Regions from separate parts of the Homo sapiens genome. Here region 1 is linked to region 2. The links are contacts of gene promoters, found by promoter capture Hi-C in human tissues and cell types (Jung and others, 2019). All regions are on one chromosome and are shown on one strand. The core of a region is centred on a gene start or on the middle of the fragment in contact, and the rest is flanking DNA. Distances in the headings are between cores, read along the strand shown. Region 1 overlaps ST7 (suppression of tumorigenicity 7). Region 2 holds the start of TES (testin LIM domain protein).

Region 1 (2,700 bases), core at 135-2,634, 900 kb after region 2:
TATATATATATGTATACATACACACACACCACATTTTCTTTATCCACTTATTGATGAGCATTTGGACTGGTTCCATATTTTTGCTATTGCAAATTGTGCTGCTATAAACATGCGTGTACAAGTATCTTTTTTGTATAGTGACTTCTTTGCCTCTGGGTAGGTACCTGGTAGTGGGATTGCTGGATCCAATGGTAGATGTACTTTTAGTTCTTTAAGGAATCTCCAGTGTTTTCCATAGTGGTTGTACTAGTTTACATTCCCACCAGCAGTGTAAAAGTATTCCCTTTTCACCACATCCATACCCATATCTATTATTTTTTTACTTTTTATTATGGTCATTCTTGCAGGGGTGAAGTGGTGCTGCATTGTGGTTTTGATTTGCATTTCCCTGATCATTAGTGATGTTGAGCATTTTTTTCATGTTTATTGGCCATTCGTATATCTTCTTTTGAGAATTATCTATTATTCATGTCCTTAGCCCACTTCTTTTTTTTTTTTTTTTTTTTTTTTTTGAGACAGAATTTTCACTCTTGTTGCCCAGGCTGGAGTGCAATGGCACAATCTCGGCTCACTGCAACCTCTGCCTCCTGGGTTCAAGCAATTCTCCTGCCTCTGCCTCCCAAGTAGCTGGGATTACAGGCATGTGCCACCATGCCTGGCTAATTTTTTGTGTTTGTTAGAGACAGGGTTTCACCATGTTGGCCAGGCTGGTCTGGCCAACTTCTGACCTCAGGTGACCCACCTGCCTCGGCCTCCCAAAGTTCTGGGATTGTAGACGTCAGCCACTGCACCCGGCCCTTAGCCCACTTTTTGAAGGGATTTTTTTCTTTCTTGCTGATTTATTTGAAATCCTTGTAGATTCAGGATATTAGTCCTTTGTCAGATGTGTAGATTATGAAGATTTTCTGCCACTCTGTGGGGTGTCTGTTAATTCTGCTGATTATTTCTTTTGCTGTGCAGAAGCTTTTTAGTTTAATTAAGTCCCATCTATTTATCTTTTTTTTTGTTGCACTTGCTTTTGGGTTCTTGTTCATGAAGTCTTTGCCTAAGCCAATGTCTAGAAGGGTTTTTCCAATGTTATCTTCTAGAACTTTTATGGTATCAGGTCTTAGATTTAAGTCTTTGATTCATCTTGAGGTGATTTTTGTATAAGGTGAGCGATGAGGATCTAGTTTCATTCTTACTCATGTGACTTGCCAATTATCCCAGCACCATTTGTTGAATAGGGTGTCTTTTCCACACTTTATATTTTTGCTGTGCTTTGTCCAAGATCAGTCGACTGTAAGTATTTGGCTTTATTTCTGGGTTCTTCATTCTGTTTCATAGGTCTATATGCCTGTTTTTATACTAGTACCAAGCTGTTTTGGTGACTGTGGCCTTATAGTATAGTTTGAAGTCAGGTAATGTGAATCTCCAGATTTGTTCTTTTTGCTTAGTTTTGCTTTGGCTATGCAGGCTCTTTTTAGGTTCCATATGAATTTTTTGGTTGTTTTTTTCTAGTTCTGTGAATAATGATGGTGGTATTTTGATGGGAATTGCATTGAATTTGTAGATTGCTTTCGGCAGTATGGTCATTTTCTCAATGTTGATTCTACCCATCCATGAGCATGGGATGTGTTTCCATTTGTTTGTGTTATCTGTGATTTCTTTCAGCAGTGTTTTGTAGTTTTCCTTGTAGAGGTTTTTCACCTCCTTGGTTAAGTGTATTCCTAAGTATTTTTTTATTTTTTTATTTTTACAGCTACTGTAAAAGTGGTTGAGTTCTTCATTTGCTTCTCAGCTTGGTCGCTGTTGGTGTATAGCAGGGCTACTAATTTGCGTACATTAATTTTGTATCCTAAAACTTTGCTGAATTCATTTACCACTCCTGGGAGCTTTTTGGATGAGTCTTTAGGGTTTTCTAGGTATATGATCATGTCATCAGCAAACACTTGACAGTTTGACTTCCTCTTTACCGATTTGAATGCCCTTTATTTCTTTCTCTTGTCTGATTGCTGTGGCTAGGATTTCCAGTACTATGTTGAATAGAAGTGGTGAAAGTGGGCATCCTTGTCCTGTTCTCAGGGTAAATGCTTTCAACTTTTCCTCGTTCAGTATAATGTTGGCTGGGGGTTTGTCAGAGATGGCTTTTATTACCTTAAGTATGTCCCTTCTATGCCAATTCTTTTGAAGAGATGAATAAAATTGATAGACCATTGGTGAGATTAAGCAAGAGAAGAAGAGAGAAGATCCAAATAAGCTCAATTAGAAACGAAATAGGAGATATTACAACTGATACCACAGAAATACAAAAGATAATTCAAGGCTACTTTGAACCCCTTTACACACATAAACTAGAAAACCTAGAAGAGATGGATGAATTCCTGGAAATATACAACCATCCTAAATTAAACTAGGAAGAAATTGAAAGTCTGAACAGATTGAAATGGTAATTAAAAAGTTACCAACAAAAAAAAGTCCAGGACCAGATAGACTCACAGCTGAATTCTATCAGACATTCAAAGAAGAATTGGTACCAATCCTATTGACCCTATTCCAAAAAATAAAGAAGGAATCCTCCCTAAATTATTCTGTGAAGCCAGTATCACCCTAATGCCCAAACCAGGAAACAATATAACAAAAAAATAAAACTACAGATCAATATCTCTGATGAACGTAGATACAAAAATTCTCAGTAAAATATTAGCTAACTGAATCCAA
Region 2 (2,752 bases), core at 20-2,519:
AGGAAACATGCACATTATAAATCAATGCTCTGTGTTAACAAATAATCAAGTAAGCAGAGTTGCAAGTATTGGCTAAAATGAATTTTGGATATTTTTAGCTACCAAATTTCTCGAGGCAAGGCAGACATACATCTGGACCTGAATATCTGCATTATTAGGGAATTTTTGTTTGTTTGTTTTATATTGTTTTGTTATTTTTAAAAGTAGGTGCCAAATTAGGTCACCTGCTGTCTGGGCAATGTTATTTTTTGCCATAACCACAAATTGAAGAAAATTGACTGCTCTTTTTCCTTAGTCAACATGCTGTGCTTCCAGCCCCAAACATCTTTGAGAAGTTGTTTAGATTCATGAGCAATGCCTCTGTCCCCAACAGGCTAAGACATTAGGCAGGTCCCTGCACCTCTGGAGTCCTCAGTTCCCTGCAAAGTGAGGAAGCTAGACTAAGTAATCGTTAGGCTCCCTTCCAGACCGACCAATCTGATGGTATTAGATGCAATTGCTCCTGAATTAGGGCATGAAATGAATTCAGCTTTGGTGCACCAATGTGATGACTCTGCTTCATCAAAGCCTGAGCACGCGATAGGCCTAGCACCATCTCACACAGAGACAAAGGGCAACCCTCTGCTTCCAAAGGAATGACACAACCTGTTTCTGAAGTGATTCACATCATCTTTACTTTTGAACAACCCAATGCTCAGAAAACAATCTAAGAATCTTCGCTGACTTTAGGGATGTAAGATACGGTTTCTTGACAGTATTTGGGATTGTGGAAAAAAGCAATTGAGGAAAGGGCATCTCCACAACGCAATATTGAATTTAGTGCCCAAGGTCCATCACAGGAATCCCTAACGATCCCTACAATCTCTCTCTCTCTCTTTTTTTTCTCTCTTTACCCTGAAAATAAACTGAGAAGTTAGTATTGGGATAACTATTCCCCTTGACCCAAATAAAAAGTCCTGGGCAAACACAGGTACAAATTGCCAAATGGAAAAAGTTCTTCTCCATCTTCAGCTAGAGGGAGGCTGGGGATCCCAGCTCTTTAGAAGCCGGCCCGTGGACGCCCAGAGAATCCCTTCGGAGACCAGGTCAGGGTCACTGAGCTTGCCCAGCAGGGCGCCGCCTCGGACGCCGCCCCGCCTCTCACCTTGCCAGCGCCGCGCTCGGGCCGCGAAGGTGCGTGCGGCGCTCGGTGATTGGCGGCGGCCCGGAGCTGCCCGGCTGCCATTGGCTGCCCGGCCCCCTTTGTTCCCGGGTCCGGGCCGCAGGCCCGCTGCGGCGGACTGGGCGGCGGAAGTTCGACGGCGCCGGGCGAGTGGCTGTTGAGCGGCGCCGCGGGAGTTCCGCAGGTTTCCCGTGTTCGCAGCGGAGCCGGAGGCCAGCTGAACCCGGCCGTGGGATCCCGGATAGGAGGAGGAGGGGACCCATAGGACGCGTTAACATGGACCTGGAAAACAAAGTGAAGAAGGTAGGGGGGCGCTCGTGGCGGGCGGCGGCTGCTTCACCTGCGCGGGTCGCGCGGCGCGCGGCGGCCGGAGGTGCCGAGGTGGGTGGGGCTCGCGGGCCCCCCGGTGTGAGCCCGGCTCTGGGTCTGCGGTGCCCCGGGCCCAGGGACCTGGCCCCCTGGGTAGAGGAGGTGCTCGGCGGCCCCGCCAGCTCCCCACACTCGGGAGCGACAGAATTGGAAGCGCGAGCGAGGGCGGGCGCGGGACTCTTCTCTCCAGTCTCACGGAATCCCAGTGGTTGTAGGTGTTGGAAACTTTACTTAAGATGTTTCAGCTCTGCCTGTGCCTCCTCAAAAGGAAAGGACGAGCTTAGGGCGAGTGCGGGCGAGACCGTGACACTTCCTGGCTCAGGAAGTTGAATTTCATTAAGCCTTTGTGGTTTGGGGCTCTGCTGTGCTTTGACAGCTCTGATCTCCTCCCTTCCGGCTGGGCTGTCTGGGGCGCTCTAAAATGAGTGTTGATTTAATGCACTGCCTTCGCACCCGTGCTGGTGATAACTTCTAATGTGATTTTTTTTTCGGTCATTCATTACTTGTCTACCGACCGAGGCAGTGCCTCCCTCTTAGGGAATTATCTGTCAAAGAGCGCATTCTCCTTGTTTGGCAGGTAGTCCCAAAGGGCGGTTGTCACCAGCGTCTCAGCGCAGGGAGACATTTTCAGCTTGGCTGCTGCCTCGCAGGCACTGGAACCGACGGCCCTACCTGAGCCACTCCCGGGTTATGCGGAGCCTGGTGTCGCCTGGGAGAAAAGGGTGGGGACCAGACTATGACTCAGAAGGAATGCTGATGTCACATTCGAGTGAATTGCCCTGTGCGAAAGTTCTCCTCGTTCCAGGGGATTTGCTCATGTTTTACTTTGTGGTAAATTTAAGCTAGCTGTCCCTTATCAAATAGAGAAGTTTTGCAGAGAGAGGAAGGGAAAAATACAGAAAACAGTTTTTGTTTTTCTCATACTCATGGTTCCTAATATTTTATCTTCTAAACACAAAGTTTTTGACTTGAGCATTAATTCTATTTTATGCCCAGAACTGGATTTTTGAAAATGGATACAAAATATTGTGTTAGGACTGCAGAGTTTTCGGTTAGGAAGCTATTGACCAATAAAAACTCGAAATGAGAAAACAGTTTTTTTCATTCCTTGCGACTAAAATTCTCAGGCACTCAAAAAGGTATCCAAGAACAGAAAAACATAAATTGTTAATGGTAGCGTGATTGCATTCTATTCTCTTCCCATTTGGTTTCTTTCTTTTT

What was found. The method cuts DNA at HindIII sites, captures the fragments that hold promoters and counts their contacts. A contact is called where the count stands out against the background at its distance.
Region 1: a fragment that was not itself captured here is called in contact with the fragment with the promoter of TES in region 2 in 1 of the 25 tissues and cell types used here (dorsolateral prefrontal cortex).

What each region holds. Positions count from the first base shown.
Region 1 is chr7:117,107,118-117,109,817 of GRCh38, forward strand. The region is part of intron 2 of ST7 (suppression of tumorigenicity 7); the gene reads left to right. It also overlaps a transcript of ST7-AS2 not described here. Among named protein-coding and RNA genes, the nearest start is that of ST7-AS2, 37 kb to the right of the region's middle. The HindIII fragment of the contact is 5,678 bases long and covers 1-2,700 here.
Region 2 is chr7:116,209,270-116,212,021 of GRCh38, forward strand. It overlaps TES (testin LIM domain protein), which reads left to right and starts at 1,270. Exons shown (of 7, transcript NM_015641.4): 1 at 1,270-1,465. The coding sequence starts at 1,439. RefSeq lists silencers at 989-1,118, 1,152-1,414, 1,169-1,368, 1,509-1,598 and an enhancer at 1,959-2,198. The HindIII fragment of the contact is 11,100 bases long and covers 1-2,752 here.